2 separate regions of the Homo sapiens genome follow, and region 1 is linked to region 2. The links are contacts of gene promoters, found by promoter capture Hi-C in blood cells and fetal thymus (Javierre and others, 2016). All regions are on one chromosome and are shown on one strand. Each heading gives the region's core, a stretch centred on a gene start or on the middle of the fragment in contact. The rest is flanking DNA. Distances are from core to core; before and after follow the strand shown. Region 1 has its middle 27 kb from the start of NME6. Region 2 holds the start of FBXW12 (F-box and WD repeat domain containing 12).

Region 1 (2,762 bases), core at 196-2,695, 98 kb before region 2:
ATCCTAGAGCATTTTATATCCAACAATTCTGGGGGCTCGTCTGGGATTCCCATTCTCCTTCGGGAAGGGGTCTTCAGTCACCCTACCCAGGGGAGACACTTCCCACTGCCCTGTTGCGGTGGCCCTCAGGGATGGGAGATCGAGACCCACCTGTTGTGACGAATAAACCTGGACTCTCAGCAACGCGGGGAAGAGAGACTTGCAATACTGCGGCGACCAGGTAAACTGCACAGACCAAGGTAGAAAACGTCGCAGGGGCAACAAATTACTTCTTTAGTGGTTTTGCGGGGGTCGGGGCATTCTGGAGGTTGAAAGTGCATGAATGGTAACAAGCACTACTGCTGTGCGGAGTGAGACCAATCTGCAGTTCCGTGGTCATCTCATATGGCTTAGGGCGGCCCTTTGGGGGTCCCGTCAGGGGTTTATACTGACCCCCCATGAATGCTAAAAGTGACCTGGAACATTCCCTCAAGGGAAGCGGCCAGAGCGTGAAGGTTGCAGTGAAAGAAGGGTGCAAGGAATCTCCAGCAGGTGGAGCTAAAGGATAGGCGAATTGTGCCTTAGCAAAGCTTCCAGTGAAGGACAGGCAAGAGACCCCTAATACGAGGGGTTGAGCCAGAAGGAACCCCCCAAATAGGCAGGAGATCCCTAATATGAGGGGTTGAGCCACAGAAAGCCCCCACTAGGCAAGAGATTCCTAATACGAGGGATTGAGCCTAGCCAGGACCCAGTATGGTAAATAATACAAGCAAAAAAGATAAAGTTAGCAACAAAGATATACCACTGATAGTCCCCAAGGTCTCAAAGATATACCACCTGATAGCCCCTTAGGTCTCAGGCTAAAAGGTTGGAAAGATAACAAGAGAACTAAACATAAGACAAAGGAACAAATGATAAAATATTGCTGTTCTATTTGGTCTCAAAGACCTATCCTCAGTCCCTCAATCTTCTGGCCAAAGTTTGGGTCGACTAAGGATATACTATATCAACTTTTAATTCAACATGTAAGTAATAAAAGCCCAGTTTCTCAAGAAGAACTGAACTATGCTCTTTGTTGGAAGCAAAGACCTGTCCTCCCTTTTCCCTTATGCACCTGCCCCTACTGTAGAACCAGTGAGAGAAGGGGGGATCCTGGCAAAGAGAACAGCACATGGGATCCCCTAGACCATCCTCCACCTAATACCCCTAGTCCCCCTCCTAATACACCCAACCCTTCCCCTCAGGCCCAGCCTAAGTCCCCCTCCCCGGAAAAACTCCAAGCTCCTAATTCACCAGGTCGCTTTTGCTGGGCTAGTAACATCAAGGATCCACCGCAACATGTCTGCATCGTCCCTCCCATAGTACACCCCAGCGGCAGGCAAAGCCCATGCTCCTGCCCCCCCGCTGGTCCAACATCCCAGCACCATATTGACGGCGGCTCTGCAAGACCCATGGGCCAGGCCCCAGCCTATGCCCCAAGCAGACTACATTATGGGATATCTGCCTTACTTTTGCCAAGGCCAAGTAATATGGGGCCTCAGCCGCAGCTCCAAGCACCTAGGCATCCCTGCGGCTAAGTCTCCTGAGCAAGTGGTAAATAATCTTTCAGCTGATATATCCGCTAGCATTTATTGTGGTCAGGCCAGTGTTAAAAGTAAAAATATCCACCAGAAAAGAACTTTGATTCTTTAAAGTCGCTTTTTTGTTGTTGTTGTTGTTTGAGACGGAGTCTCACTCTGTCGCCCAGGCTGGAGTGCAGTGGCACCATCTCGGCTCACTGCAAGCTCTGCCTCCCAGGTTCACGCCATTCTCCTGCCTCAGCCTCCCCAGTAGCTGGGACTACAGGCACCCACCACCACGCCTGGCTAATTTTTTTGTATTTTTTAGTAGAGACGGGGTTTCACCATGTTAGTCAGGATGGTCTCGATCTCCTGATCTCGTGATCCGCCCGCCTCGGCCTCCCAAAGTGCTGGGATTACACGCATGAGCCACCACGCCCGACCTCTTAAAGTCACTTATATTAAAATGTGCTACCAGAAAATAATTACATGTGTATAAGTATGAGGCTATTCTGTTAAAAAGGATGGTTTAACATTAACTACTGATAATTCGCGTAACCTAGCAAGTTTCTTAACGAGAGATCCAAATCAAAAAGAAAGCACACATGTTTAGATTTAACTGATTACCGTACAAACGTCTGGCCAAACTTAAGAGAAACCCCCTTCAAAAGTGATTAAGGGAAAAAGAATGCAACAAGTGTTCAGTGGTTAATGAAAGTTCCTAGAGAAAATCAAAGTGTTTAATAATTAGTCTATTCAAATTTATAAGCTGTCTGCACTTAGTCAAGCTTTAAAGTACCTGCAGGACCCGAAAGAACCATATATACTAATTGTAAATACGCCTTTACAGTGGCTCATACATTTAGAAAATTTCATACTGAATTAATAGTAAAAGTTAAAGCCTTGTTTATGAGGAGTTAGTCACCCAAGTATTAAATAACCTTCAGTTACCAGAAAAGAAAAAAATAGCTATTGTCCATGTCCCCAGGCACCAAAAAGCCTGTCTTTCAAGAGTCAAGAAAATAACCTAGCAAATCAGATAAGCCAGAAAATAACCTAGCAAATCAGATAACGCTACAGGAGCATTTCTCCTGTAGGTGCTAAAGGGAACTCAGAGAAATGTTATTCAGACCTCTTATGAAGGAAGTCCTTTCTCCACCTACATTAGAGGACTCATTAAAGACCCCAAGCCATGTATAGCACAAAGTTTATATGTGTATAGGA
Region 2 (2,758 bases), core at 259-2,758:
TTTAGATTTGTCTTCATCTATTGTTGCAATGTGTCTTTCTCTGCCGCTTTTCTGGTAGCACCCCGCCACCACCACCCCCCAACACACCTTCCTGTTCCTCTATTTTTTTTGTTGTTGTTGTTGAGATGGAGTCTCGCACTGTCGCCCAGGCTGGAGTGCAGTAGCGCAATCTCAGCTCACTGCAACCTCCACCTCCCAGCTTCAAGCAATTCTCCTGCCTCAGCCTCCCAAGTAGCTGGGATTACAGGCACCCGCCACCACGCCCAGCTAATTTGTTGTATTTTTAGTAGAGACAGGGTTTCACTATGTTGGCCAAGCTGGTCTCAAACTCCTGACCTGGTGATCCACCCGCCTCGGCCTCCCCAAGTGCTGGGATTACGGGCATGAGCCACTGTGCCTGGCCTCTGTTCCTCTATTTCAAATTCATTCATTCACTCATTCGGCAATTTGCTTCAGTTTCCTTATGTTTGCCTCTTTCTCATCTGTCCTCTTTTCCATTTTATTCCTACTCTGTCTCAGTCCACTTACAGTTATATTTCCTATCTGTGTATTTTATAATATTTGTGCTTTAATACTTTTAAAATATCCTTTATTTTACTGTTTCTTCTCTTCCCTTGTCATATTTTAAAGTGTTTTATTTCTCAGCCTTCTATATCTTTGCATTAATTCTGTTCCTCTACAATAGAGTCCGTTCCAAGCTTTCTGTCTTCCTGTGTCCTTCCACGGCTCTGGCTCTCTCTGCATTATTTCCTATTTATGGAATACAAATCTTTTACCCTTGTATTTTTCTCACTCCTCTCCACACACCCCTTGACTCGCCTTTCCCCACGCCCCTCTAGGTGCTTCTTGGTCTTTGCTTTTCCTTTTTATTTCCTCACCATGTCAATTTGTATTTTTCCTCTCTCTTACTACTGTATCATAAATGGGACTCCCGACAACCACTCCCGTGTGTCTGCCTGGAGGCAGCAGTTTTAAGAAGGGTTGGCCACTGAGCCTCACAGAGGGACCCCTGTCTTATGCTGCAGCAAAGTACCATAGACTGGGTGGCTTACAAACAAATTTATTTCTCACAATTTTGGAGGAGAGAAGTCCAAGAGTCACCTGTCAGCACGGTCAGGTTCTGGTGTGGGCCTTCTTCCAGGTTGCAGCTGACACCTTCTCATGTCCTCGCATGATATGAACAGGGCTAGAGAGCGTTCTGGGGTCTCTTTTATAAGGTCACTGGTCCCATCATAAGGACTCTGCCTGTGACCCACTTACCTCCCAAAGGCCCCCCACCTCCAATCACACCAAGGGTTAGAATTTCAACGTAGGAATTTTGAGAGGACACAAACACCCAGGCTATGACACGGTCTTTAGAAAATCCCAGAATGAGTTGTCAGGTTCTTGGGAGATCTGTAACTGTGGGAAAGCGTCACATCCCAGGGAAAGCCACCAGCTGGGAGAGCCATCCCAGACAAGGCCTGCTCCCTTTGGGCGGACCTCTGTGGAGAAGCCAGCTTGGCACGTTCTTTCTCCTCCACTGCAAAGTTAAATGCGAGAAGGTAGAAACCCAGAGGCCATGCTGGCGCTGAGAGATGAGCCCCACTCACCAGATTCAAGATCCCAAGGTAGGCACAGACACAGGGCAAGCAGACTCCAATTCCAGGAGTTTGGAACTTAAATAGAGTCATAGAGACACTCAGATCTGATCAAAGTGAGTGCACTCGGTGACATTTCCTAAAGGGTTCTGACAACTTCATCTGCAACTGGGGCTGCCCCAGGTTCTGCACCTCCAGCTCACAGCGCACAGGTGTTGCTGAGCTCCTCTAAACAATGAACAGCACTAACAAGTGGGTTTAGGTAGGGATGCCTGCCAGCTGTGTGGATCAGGCCCCAGGGGAGAGGCCGGGGTGGAGGTCAGCCCGGGAGTCTGCACACCTGCAGCTTGTTTCTACCGCACACAGATGGGCATGGGTGAAAATCTTTACAAGTGCTGCAGACTTTGGCAAAGCCTATAAATTCAGAGCAGCCCGGAGAGGAGAAAGGAAAGTGGATGTGGGTTCAGGCCGCATGAAATGGAGATCCGATTGCCTGACTTAGCTTTGAAGCGAATCTTCTCTTTCCTGGACCTGTTCGGCTTGCTGCAGGTTTCCCAGGTGAACAAGGTAAAGGCCTTCCACCTCCCACTGCCCCCCAAGCCCGCTGCTTCTCTCGACCAGTTTGAGCACCACTTTGCAGAATAGCAGAGGGTTACACTGAGGCTTTGGGGGTTAGCATTCTTCATACTGAGGGCCTCATATTCTGTTAAACGAAAAGGACAAGCTGATATCCAGGAGTTGTGCTGACTAAACAGTCCTTGAGGCTCCCATTTCAAGCCCTAGGAAATCAACACTTCTTCCTGTGAATTCATGGGAATACCCAGTGCCTGTATTAGCAGTGATAGGTCTCTGTTGTTACCATTTCCTTATCTCCCCACACTGAGAGTGCTTTGAGAGCTGGAATCCCATCTGATTAACCTGTGCGGGCCCAGCTCCCAGAACAAATAATAGCAGAGGATTACCCTTGCTCTCTGATGTAACTGATTGCCTGCTTGTCTCTTCCTTTCTCTCCCATAGCATTGGAATAGGATTGCAGACAGTGATTACCTGTGGAGGTAAGGGAAGGGAAAGGGCAAGGAGGGAAGGGGAGAGGAGATCATCTGACTGCGCACCCATGCTGTGTCCCAAGGCCTGTGTGGCTGTGTTGTGAGATATACACAGGAAAGTTAGTGTGAGTA

What was found. The method cuts DNA at HindIII sites, captures the fragments that hold promoters and counts their contacts. A CHiCAGO score of 5 or more calls a contact.
Region 1: a contact is called between a fragment that was not itself captured here and the fragment with the promoter of FBXW12 in region 2, in 1 of 17 cell types (megakaryocytes). The highest score is 5.8, in megakaryocytes.

Annotation. Positions count from the first base shown.
Region 1 is chr3:48,273,274-48,276,035 of GRCh38, forward strand. No RefSeq gene overlaps it. Among named protein-coding and RNA genes, the nearest start is that of NME6, 27 kb to the right of the region's middle. The HindIII fragment of the contact is 1,757 bases long and covers 568-2,324 here.
Region 2 is chr3:48,370,711-48,373,468 of GRCh38, forward strand. It overlaps FBXW12 (F-box and WD repeat domain containing 12), which reads left to right and starts at 1,509. Exons shown (of 11, transcript NM_207102.2): 1 at 1,509-1,610; 2 at 1,974-2,147; 3 at 2,598-2,635. The coding sequence starts at 2,058. The HindIII fragment of the contact is 9,186 bases long and covers 697-2,758 here.